2 separate regions of the Homo sapiens genome follow, and region 2 is linked to region 1. Evidence: promoter capture Hi-C in 16 types of primary human blood cells and fetal thymus (Javierre and others, 2016). All regions are on one chromosome and are shown on one strand. Each heading gives the region's core, a stretch centred on a gene start or on the middle of the fragment in contact. The rest is flanking DNA. Distances are from core to core; before and after follow the strand shown. Region 1 holds the start of CD2AP (CD2 associated protein). Region 2 holds the start of MCM3 (minichromosome maintenance complex component 3).

Region 1 (5,767 bases), core at 2,689-5,188:
TAACATAAAGAAATCACTCTATTATAGAAGTGCATATATCATCTAAACCAACCACAAATTTGTCTATTAAAACCACCACGAGGCCAGGTGCAGTGGCTCACGCCTGTAATCCCAGCACTTTGGGAGGCCAAAGCGGGCAGATCACATGAGGTCAGGAGTTCGAGACCAGCCTGACCAACATGGTGAAACCCTGTCTCTACTAAAAATGCAAAAATTAGCTGGGCATGGTGGCACACACCTGTAATCCCAGCTACTGAGGAGGATGAGACAAGAGAATCCCTTGAACCCAGGAGGCGGAGGTTGCGGTGAGCCGAGATCGCACCACAGCACTCCAGCTTGGGCAACAGAGCAAAACTCCATCAAAAAAACAAACAAACAAACAAAAAAACACCACCACATGACTGATATGTTTTATATACGAGAGCCTATAAAATAAACTAAAAAGTTCACCGCCTTATCTAAAATTATTAAAGAGAAATTCTGCCCTTAGAAGTCTGCTTACTCTTCCAAAAATAAAAATTCACAAATATTCCTTTTTTGTGCTCTAGAAATGCTCTGACACTTTGTGCCATTTGCTTTCTGCCTAATTCTGCTCCAAAATGCCGATCTGTATTTTTGGAATAAGAAAAATAAGCACTGCCTATCTGTCTCCCTAGAGCTCTTCCCAAATTCTTTCACACAGAATACCTCAAACTTCTCAATAGGCATTTTATCACATTTAACAAATGTAGACACTAAAAACATAAACTTCAAATAAGTCTACTAGTAGTCATCCCACTTAAGAGTTTTTCCTAAGCAACTAAAGCTCTTACCAATAATGGACTTTCGCACAGTACATCCAACATTGAAAAAAGTATCTATGTGGTTTCTGTAAGGTTATATCACATAAAATTCAATTTCTGCCTTAGTGCAAAATCATCTCATCCCTCTGGTCCTTTATTTAAAGAAAATATCCTACTTCTAACAAAGGTCAAAAATTGAGATTTTTTTTTTCCCAAGTTGGTACAAGAATTAGGGAAATCATTTGAAAATGAAAATCACCACCGCCAGCACTGGCAGTGTTCTAAGCACTTTACAAGTAGTAACTCATTCAATCCTCCTAACAACCTATGAGGTTGATATTTTATTCCATTTATAGATTGAGAAACTGAAGCACAGAGAAGTAATGTGCTCAGTCACACAGCCAGTAGGTAGAAGAGAATTTGACCTCAAGTAGTCTCTGTCCAGAGCCCATGCTTTTAACTCTCTAGCTGTACCACCTAAACTTAAGAACCACCATTTAATAGGCATCCAAATTATCTTACACACAAAAAAAATTTCAGATTTTTTCATTTTGTGACAAATTAGATAAAATATCATGTAAATATTTTAGGCTGCATCTAAAATCATAAGAAAAAAGGATGGCTGGTAAAACCAAATAAATGAGATTTATATTAAAGAGCAAACTCCCTTTAAGTGAACTTGGGAATTTTATTATTACATGACCAATAAACTTAAAGAATATATATATTGATATGGAAATGTTTCACAAACACTTTACAAAAACTTAACCACAAATGCCCTCAGTAACATACCTTCAAAACACATTCTAAGTAGTCGAGAGTATACCAACATTGATATCCAAGTCTATATGAAAACTCACCTAAACAGAACACAACAAATAAATCACAAAGAAAAAGCCTCTGGACAATCAAAATAGGTATTCCAATGTCCAAGTATTGGTACACATTTACTTTTCTCCAGAGACGACCTCACACACTAAGTAACGGCCTACTGATTTTTCCCCTATGCAGAATCACAAACCTGAATATGATTTCCACACTTCTAAAAAAAAATTAGAAAAGGAAAGATGATGGGGGACACTAATCAGTTACAAGCACATCCAAAAGCAAAGCAAAAAAAAAAAGTATTTAAATAATTTCAAAATGCGAACAAATATTATTTAGAATTTAGCTCAAAAGCCCTATATGCAAAACAAGACTGCATCCCCAGGTCATCCAAAGTAGTTTAATTTTATTCTGCATCCCATTTAAGACAGAAAAGAACTGTGTAATTAACTTTAGTATTATCTTAATCCAAAGCAGTTAAAGTGATTTTATAATTTCATACTTAAAAGAATATGCCCACAATTGCCCTGCAAGCTCAACTAATCAATTATAAAATAATTCATTTGAAAATTCCAAATAGCAAATGTTTTATTTCACTGTTTTTGAGCTCAAGAGCACTTTTGAGTATGAAAGTTACCTGAAAGGAGGGAGGTGGAGAAGGGAACATAAAATTAGAAAAGTCTAAGAAAACAGAGGATAGCTAGGCGAGTGTCTATAAACAATATGCTCAAAACATCCCCCACAAAGCAAAGTGTGGACAGAGGGTGCCACATCAGCAGTAGTCTGTATTCGTCCTGCTTCTAAATCATTTGTTAATTACATGAATTATTCATTTCGGTGATCGTTTGTTGATATGAAGCAGTACCAACTCTCAACTGCAAAAAGTGATAGGGTCCTCCTGATTTGCTCTACAAAAATCAAACTTGGGTTTACTCTTACAGAACACGTTCTGCCTTATAGAGACACAGGGTGTTTTGTTTTTTGTAAGCTATTCTTAAGTTGCTTTTAATTTTTAAAGGATTGAGGGAGTTAGTTTAATGCCTAGCCCACACCGAACTTTGTTATCAAAAGAAATTGTTACACCACTTAACAAAACTCCTTTTCAACCCGGACTGCCACACATTCTGCCTTCTCTAACTTCAAACAAAACTATAAAGCACATAGTAAATAACATATAAGGCCTTGTATTTTTCTCTCCTCCGGCAAGGAAGTCTAACTCCAAACAGGAAACTGCTCCTCAAAGGATCCAACACTGAAGTCCAAACCCAGTCCTCGGGAGCACACTGAATGCTTAGGTGCCAACACACTTGCCTAGGTAGAACCCGAGTAAAACAAATACTCAAGCTTTCCTGTCCTTGAGGCACCCCTTGCGAGTTTCAGCAGGAAAAAAAAAAAGTTTTTGAACAAATTTATCTCTCTCCTTAAACGTATTCAAAGCCTCGCAGAAAATAAAGAAGTTGAAAGTGCTACTTTATCAAGTTTTTCGATCGCCCTCCCCCATCCCACGAGGAGGGGGAGGGAAGCAAGGGGATGAGGAAGGGAAGGAAGGTCAGGTCTGATTTTAGCTGGGCAAGGGGTTAGCAGAGGTGGCCAGGCGCCCCCGCCCCCCATCCCGCACCTTTCTGGTGAACAGGAAAAGAGGCGGAGAAGGGAGAGCGAGGGAAAGCACCCGCGAGCTCTCCCACCAGTTTCTCCGTGAGAAGAGCAAGGTGGAAGGCAGGGCAAGAAGGGGCGGTGGGGAGAATGGAGAGGGTGGGGTGCTGCCGCTCAGGGGCTGACCGCAGTCGCCTCCCCAGAAGGCCGAGAAAGGGCACAGCCTCCCCGGGTCTGGAAGGTCCGGACGGGCGGCGGGAAGCGCCCGAGTCTCTTACCCATGCTGGGGGCTCCCGCGGGGAGAAGCCGACGTCCGCTCCTCCTCCTCCTCCTCCAGTGGTGGCTCGCGCGGCCGCTCCCGCGGCTGGAGGCGGGACCCGCGCTCCGCGCTAGCCCCTCCTGAGCTCAGGCGGGGCGAAGAGTCGCCTCCATCCGCCCGCGGCGCTCTCCTACCAGTCTCTTCAGCGCGGCCCTCGAGGCAGAGGCAAAGGCGGCGACAGCTCCTCACCCCTGGCCTCCCCAGGAGCCACGGCGGCGGGAGGGCCCTACCCCGCCCGCCCGACCGCGGTTTTCCCACCCTGGCCGCTCCCGCAGTGGGGAGGGACCCACCGGTTTGCCCAGACCCTCGGCTCCAACCCCGAGCGCCCGCCTAGCCTCGGAGCCCGCCCCTCGCCTCTTCCTTAGCACTCGCAGTTAGAAAAGGCGACACCGTAGACTAAGGTGGGGACCCAGACAGAGGCCGAGAAGGTGCGGGGAGCTGGGACCGGGAGGAGGCAAATCTCGCGAGAACGCCCTCGTTCTCCCCGCCCCACCCCGCCCCGTCGCGTTCGGGCTCTCTCCCGGTCCCCACGGCTGCTGCCAGGTGCGGTGACGTCACGGCCGGGGGTCGCGCGCCGACCGCGTCCAGGTGCAGCGAGCGGATGAGGAAGCGGTGCAGAGGAGCTTGGGCTCGCTCTCCCCCCGGAGGCTCGGAACAGCTTGGGCGGGCGTTTGGTCTGGTTTGTCGCCTCAGATGGATCAAAAGGTTTCTGCTGATAGGCAAAGTTGCCCCACTTTCCGCGGCGGCGACGCGGAGTTACTTTCTGCAGCGAAGCAGCCTCGAGGACCTTAAAGGGAAAAGGCGGACAGAAGGAGGGCGAGCGCACTTGATTTCGACCTTTAAGGGAGGCCCAGATGCTGCCAGGCCCCTCAGTTTACCTTGCGAAGTTACTTACGGATCAGCAGCATTTGGTCTTCGTCGGGTGAGGGAGAAACCTAGGCATCAAATAAATTCTGTTTCACAGATTCCTTTAGTCTCTTGTCAGCTGAATGCAACTTTATAATTTGCTTTTTTTCTTTTTAAAGTATAATTTGAGTTGTTACTTGATCGAGAGAAAAATAGGCATCATGATTTGAAATACTGCCAGGCATTTTTTCTAGCGTCAATGTGAAGGAGGGCATAGGATTACTATAGTCAGTCAAACATGAGCTTGGTAGTTACGAAGAAGTATAATTATTTCAGCAAGCTTTTTTTCCCCCTTCTGTTTAAGTAGACCCAATTCCAGGGCAGATGTGTGTGTGAGCGTTTGTTGAACGCCAACTATTGTGCCTAGTGCTTTTTCAAGAAATTTTGTAATTCTCAGTCATCCAGCACTGAAACTGACTTGCCCTTTGGATCCAGGCAGACATGGGTCCTTGAAACTCAGCACAGCCATTTACTTTTTGTGGGACCTTGGATAAATTAACCTGTCTGAACTTCAATTTCTTGAGTATGTTCAAACAAATCTTGCAATGCAGAGCACAGTGGCCCATAGTAGTAACCTTGGACGTATCCATTACCACTATTTCCTATAGGCCTGCTTTTGCCATCTTTTAATTCTTCTAATGCTTCTCAAAAGGTTACATGTGGTAATTTTATAACAAGAATGATCAAACTCACAAACAGCAGCCAAAAAGGATAAAAGAAAAAAGTTGAATATACTCACCTAAACAAGATTACATTGACATCATGGAACATGTGCCTTTTTTAGGTAACAAATATGTGTTCAGCATTATGTTCGTTGTCCCCTACCAAGCAAAAAAATAAAAAGCTAAAGTACAGCGCTAATCCTCAGAGATTTTGCATTCTTCTAGGGGGGTGAGATACGAACACAAAGTTAATTAACAGTATGAGGTAGTGAGGGTCAAATGCTTGAGAATTTAAAGGAAAATAAATTACTGTGGGCAAAGCAAGCTGTAAAGAGAAGGTATGAGTTGAACGAAAGCTTGGGGAAGGCAATAATTCAGTCTGGAGGAGTCCTAGAACTGAGGAATGGAAGTGGATATGCAAACAGAGTATTTCTGAGCCTTTAAGAAATGTGTGTGGCTCAAGCAGCCCATAAGGAAGGCCATTTACGATTTGGAAGAATGAGGCTGGTGATGGGCTAAGAAGGATTCATGAAAGGAGACAAAAATATAAGCTATTGGAAGCACATACATAGGTAGTAAATTCAAGGCCCAGAGCCCTTAAGTTTCTAGAGACTAAATTTCTAGGTCTCTAGAATCCTTAATATTTAAAGAAGAAAGGCCAATGAATAGAATGGAAAAGA
Region 2 (6,078 bases), core at 1,766-4,265, 4.8 Mb before region 1:
GAATGCACTACAGTGCTTCCTCCCCTTCTCCTATCCCTTGACTCCTCTCCAACTACCATTCACCACCACTACCAATGGTTAACATTTATTTAATGCTTACTACATACCAGGCACTTTTTTCAGTAGTTTACATCTGTTATGACTTCACTGGATACTTAAACATTTGAGTTAGATACTACTAACCTAATTTGAAAGGTGAAGAAACTGAGGCACAGAGTGGTTAAGTAAGTTGCCTAGTCGTGCAGGTAATATACAGAGCAGCCAGAAAGAGTAACCAAATCTGCCTGTCTTGGTGCTTGAAACTCTAGATGCTACAGCATCTGAAGATTCTGACTTCACACTGCAGAACTGTGAGGTTAGGGCAAGCCTGTGCCTACAGATTATTCCTTGAGCTGCTGTGACACCTGGAGGCATAGATTTGCTCACCTCCAAGCTTTGGTGGCCTTTGAGTAAATGTCAAAGGACTGCTAATGAATTATGGCACTTTCCTGAGTGCCTAAACAAGTTATTAATTACAGGGTATTATTTGAAATGTTTTGCAACATATAATGTTCATTAGTTTGAACAAAGGTATATATAATTTCTTGTAATAATATTTATTATGGATTTGTATTGTGTCTTTGGGTATTTTTTGGACCCTGAGGACATAGAAAAATGGCAGTATTACATCTATTTTGCAATCTCTTTGCAATCTTGTTTTCTTTCCATTCTCTTCCTGTATACTCTGCTCTCCAGGGAGCCCCCTAGCGTTTAGGCAGCCTTGGAGATGGGCTTGAGTCCATTAAAGTCTAGGGTGGAAAGAAAATTGAAATGGAGGAAAGCAGGAATGTGACCCAAGTATGGAAACTGTAGATACACTACTTTATTAGATTATATGTGCTTTTTAATTTTGAATCAGGATAGAGGAGGACTACGGGCTAAGCTCAGCTGGACTTTTTATGAGATATGTACAAATGCCCCTAATTTTTCTGTAGCAACAACCTGATTGATTTTGGGCAGTTTGCAGGTGTCGGGGATAACAAAGGAAATACATTTCCTCTGCTTAAAGATTTCATGCCCTAATGAAAGAAGGGAGAAACACCAATTAAATAGCGGTGTGTCCTTCACAGCTGAAGATGATTATATTGGGACAAATCAAGTCTTTATCAAAGACCATGGCATGATTAATTCATTAAATAGAATTGTCTTTACATAGTTTCCAAATTTGCCATTAGCTCATGGAATGTTAGAGTAAGACAGATTATCAGAGATATTCTAATTCAGTTTCTTCATCTTATACTGTATATAAGGAAACAAGCCCAGAAAAAAGTGTGAGAATCAAAGATGTGGTTTTCAGATTTCCACTCTTTTGGACTTTCTACTACAAATGACTCGACTTCTTTGCTAGTTTGAACTAAGCTTCCCGGTTCTTTTAGTGTTAATTTCAAATTGTTTCCAGAGCAGAGGATATCTCAGTACTCTGTCCAATAAGTTCATAAAATAAGAGTTATGAGTAAAAAGTCTTAATAAATCAGTAATTACCTCTTGCTATATAACGGCAAACAGTATCTTTATTCTAGAATTTTCTTTTTTTTTTGCCCGTTAATAAACATAAAAGCAAGCAGTCAAATGACAGCCTTTTTGCTTTGGCTAAGGATCGATTTATCTGCCCACTAGGATGGCACAAAACATACAGTAACTATAAACTGAATAATAACTAGAAATACATATACCCACACAAATAGATGGCCTATATATTTTGTTTAGGCAGATTATTCTTAGAATATTTATCAGTACATAGTGAGTCCTGAAGACTTTAAAACATAAGCTAATAGTTGGCTGAAATTTCAGATAAAGAATTATCAAATGTCTGATGTTGGGCAATCCAGTATTTCAGCTTCTTGTTCAGTAAAATTAAAAACACATGCTGGGGCAATGGGCTTGCTCTTTATTGTGCAGAGTGGTTACATGGGTGTAAGCACAGGTAAAAATTCACTGAGCTGTACACTTAAGATTTGTGCATTTTACTGTATATACATTATATCTCAAAATAAAACTAGAAATATAAGAAAAAGCCAACCACGACGGACTGAAAACAAACATACAAATTTGGACGTGCGATGATCTTTTAGTCATTATGGTTTCAGATTTGCTGTTAGTTACTGATTGATATTTAATCAAAGTGACGTGAAACACTTTTTCCCCTCTTGAGCTGATCGTTCAGTAAGCTAAGTTACTTAAAAGGATCTTGTGATCTTTTTATAAGACCAGAAAGCCTTTAATTTACCTGTTATTAAGTAAGATGGAGTAGTAACGGTTTCCAAAATTTGTATAACACACGATGAAGTCTCTAGGGGGCAGGGTAAACACAGATTTTTTTTTTCACTTCATCCTTCTCTGCGGCGATGTCTTTATGGAGTTCGTCAGGCAACGGTATCAGATAGCAAATGGGTTTTTAACTAATCTTTCCCTAAGGTACTGTAGTTCTATATTCTATCCTATAGATTCTCAAAATCCACTTTTACACTAGGATGCCACTGGAGGGCAGTTCTGATTTGGATATATCTTAAAAATGATTTGCTTTTATGTTTTCATCTCCCTGCGTTATAAAGCACCATCCTCTGAATTTGGTCGTTGCATCGGGTCAAAAGTTCTGCAGCTTGAAAAACCCTGCAAAAACATCCGGAAAGGAGGGAGAACACTACAACTCCCAGAACGCAATGCTTTCCCTCTCGCCAGCCTGTCCCCTCCAGCTGCTCAATGACCAGCCTCTGTGAGCCTCCTCTCAGCCCTATTGGTCAGTTTGCTCGTCAGTGAGTGAGGCGGAGGGAGGGGAGGAACAGAGAATCCCGGATGGTACGTTTCCCGCCACCGCGGGGCGCGCAGCGGAAAACCCGAAGAAGAAGAAGCTTTTGATTGGACAGTCGCTAGTCCGACCTCAGAGAACTCAGCCAATCATAATGCTTATATGCTCCCAAGGTCCCCGCCTCTTCCTCGAGGTAACCTTTGGTGGCGGGAAGAGTTCGGAAGTTTTCGCGCCGGGGTGGAGTCATCCTGGGAACCTCCACGCGACTTTGGTGGAGGTAGTTCTTTGGCAGCGGGCATGGCGGGTACCGTGGTGCTGGACGATGTGGAGCTGCGGGAGGCTCAGAGAGATTACCTGGACTTCCTGGACGACGAGGTGAGGGAGGCGCCGGCGCGCGGGCTCTAGCGCTCGGAGCCCCTGCGGACGCGGCCCGGCCGGGAAGCCAGAGGCCCGCCAGACCTCCAGACCGTGTGCCGCAGCGGAGCCTGCCGGGCCCGAGCCTCCAGCCCCAATCTTGTAACTTCTCAACGCCGGACTCGCTAGTTTGTGTTCGATAAGTGAACTCTTAGGAAGCCAGCTTTCTCTTAAGTACAAGCGATGGTCCGGGCGCGCAAAAGGCGACAGGTTCCCATTAAGTGCAAGCAGATTGGCAAAGCCCACCTCGGCCTTTTGCATTTCACTGCTCTCTCTTGATTTGAGGAGACTGTGGGGGAGGGGCTGCCCTAGGGCTATAGTGACCAGCCGCGTTGCAGAGTGCTCAGATTTTAGGGACTGACGTTTTACCTGGAGGAAAAGACTCCATAATTCGGCTGCATTCTTTTTCAATACCAACTAAGATGCAGATAAAAAGTGTTTTGTGTGCAGGCCAAGGGGATTTTATGTGCAACCCAAGACTTAAAGCCATAGAATGTTGAAAAAACCATCTTGAAGGGTTGATGATGTGACCAAATAGCTGAGATTCTCTATTCCTTTAGGTCGGGGTATGAGAACCCTTTCCGTATTATAGAGATGATTGGAAAAAATATTACTTTTTACATAATTCTTAAATGAAAAGCCATTTTAATGTGACTATTAAGAGTCTGTTTTATTTACATTTTTATTGTATATATTTGAAGTGCACATGTTTTGATATACATGGTGAAATGATTACTACAGTGAAACAACATATCCATCTATTCACGTTGTTACCTTTAACATTCACATTGCTAGGTTTAACTTAACATTTTAACAAAGTTTGCACTTACTGTCCATTTAGACTTCTCATGAGCTCATTTTAATTCTCCACTAAAGACAGAAATTACAGCATGCAGAAAAGTTGTCCATGATGATGGGAATAACAGCATGGACCTTGAGGAAGTCATTATAATTCTTATAGTCCCCTCTTAGGGTGTTATTTCGAATCTAAAAACAGTGAATGAAAGGGAGAAATTGATGAGCACATACTTACTGGGGATTCAGCTCTGCTGCAGAGATTGACTTAGCTATCTGGCTATGAGAACTACTTCTGTTTAGAAACATTGTTTTTAAATTTGTGGCTATGGTGATATGTGGTGGCTGTTTTGCAGGAAGACCAGGGAATTTATCAGAGCAAAGTTCGGGAGCTGATCAGTGACAACCAATACCGGCTGATTGTCAATGTGAATGACCTGCGCAGGAAAAACGAGAAGAGGGCTAACCGGTGAGAGGCAAGGGGATATACTGGCTGTCAGTGAGAATGGCTCCCTTCCCTCTTGGCCAGATTGGAACAGCCTCTCAGGAGAGGACTTGTATGAAACAGGATTGATCTACAAGCCCTCGTAGCTCACCTGCACCTATTTTTTTTTTTTTTTTTTTCAAAAAGTGGGTGGTTGGCATTTTCCTCCCAAATGCCCCTCCTTCCAATGTTTAGCTGAATATCATTTTTATATCTTTGATAAGTTGAGGTGAAGTTGGTCCTTAGTTCTGGTATTTTACTGAGTCTTATAGGATGGTGTTTTACTGAGACTTATAGGAGAAAGCAGAAGCTGGATTTTCTCATTGTTTTTAATGATCTAAGAATGTCTGCTGTTTTGAGGATCCATTTTTTTGAGTTCTGCCCAGTCTAATTTTTCTTTCTCTTGCTTATGTACAGGCTTCTGAACAATGCCTTTGAGGAGCTGGTTGCCTTCCAGCGGGCCTTAAAGGATTTTGTGGCCTCCATTGATGCTACCTATGCCAAGCAGTATGAGGAGTTCTACGTAGGACTGGAAGGCAGCTTTGGCTCCAAGCACGTCTCCCCGCGGACTCTTACCTCCTGCTTCCTCAGCTGTGTGGTCTGTGTGGAGGGCATTGTCACTAAATGTAAGTGGGTTAAAGGGGGCCGCTTAGGAAATGAATAGACAGGGAGATGGGGAAAGCAGGAGAGGCAAAGTAGATCTGGGTAGCTTGTGGCTTCAAAGAGGTGGAGCATTGGAATTACGTGGTAAAACTTGGAGGGCTCAGTGTGTACAATGATTGGGGGACCTTGAGTAATCACATGTATTAGTAGAATGATGAATTCTGCTGAGAGCTGGAGGAGTCTTGGTTCCTGGCAATCTCTAATTCCAACCTCTAACTCCACCTATTTATTAGTTGGGATTGGTGGTACTTAAAATTTTACATGGATATGGTGGTGGTCTATATATAAATAAAAAAGTGAATAAAAGGTAATATTGAAATATCGTAACCTAGTCAAAAAAACACAGTATTTGGAGTCATTATAGGCTTGCATATGTTTGGGTTCCACCTGTATCATCGTCTAGTTGGGTGAGTTTATATATGCACATTTTCCATCCCTAGGTTCTCTAGTTCGTCCCAAAGTCGTCCGCAGTGTCCACTACTGTCCTGCTACTAAGAAGACCATAGAGCGACGTTATTCTGATCTCACCACCCTGGTGGCCTTTCCCTCCAGCTCTGTCTATCCTACCAAGGTAAGGGGGATAAATCAGTTGAGCTGTCTTGGAGGTTGGAATCAAAGATACCTGTTTTAAGGCAAGGAATTGTGTAATATCTGAAGTCTTTTTTCTGTAAAGGGTGAAAAATAAGGATTAATCCAAAGGAAAGATTGATTGCAGGCCAGAGTTTAATATGAAAAGCCCACAATTCTTATTTATTTATTTATTTATTTTTAAAGATGAGGTTCTCCTATGTTGCCTAAGTTGGAGTGCAGTGGGTATTTGCAGGTGCAGTCATGGTGCACTAAATTTGCAAACTCCGGGGCTCAAGTGATCCTCCCAAGTAGTTGGGATTGCAGGCATGTGCTACGCCACCTGGCTTCACAATTCTTATTTTTTTTT

What was found. The method cuts DNA at HindIII sites, captures the fragments that hold promoters and counts their contacts. A CHiCAGO score of 5 or more calls a contact.
Region 2: a contact is called between the fragment with the promoter of MCM3 here and the fragment with the promoter of CD2AP in region 1, in 3 of 17 cell types (total CD8 T cells, naive CD8 T cells and non-activated CD4 T cells). The highest score is 8.8, in total CD8 T cells.

What each region holds. Positions count from the first base shown.
Region 1 is chr6:47,475,960-47,481,726 of GRCh38, reverse strand. It overlaps CD2AP (CD2 associated protein), which reads right to left and starts at 3,938. Exons shown (of 18, transcript NM_012120.3): 1 at 3,479-3,938. The coding sequence starts at 3,482. CD2AP-DT (CD2AP divergent transcript) reads left to right here and starts at 3,655. Exons shown (of 1, transcript NR_187257.1): 1 at 3,655-4,484. RefSeq lists an enhancer at 2,654-3,380 and a silencer at 3,667-4,176. The HindIII fragment of the contact is 1,754 bases long and covers 2,954-4,707 here.
Region 2 is chr6:52,281,679-52,287,756 of GRCh38, reverse strand. It overlaps MCM3 (minichromosome maintenance complex component 3), which reads left to right and starts at 3,015. Exons shown (of 17, transcript NM_002388.6): 1 at 3,015-3,160; 2 at 4,351-4,463; 3 at 4,896-5,104; 4 at 5,582-5,712. The coding sequence starts at 3,083. RefSeq lists a silencer at 389-458 and enhancers at 2,538-2,737, 3,058-3,137. The HindIII fragment of the contact is 4,216 bases long and covers 2,891-6,078 here.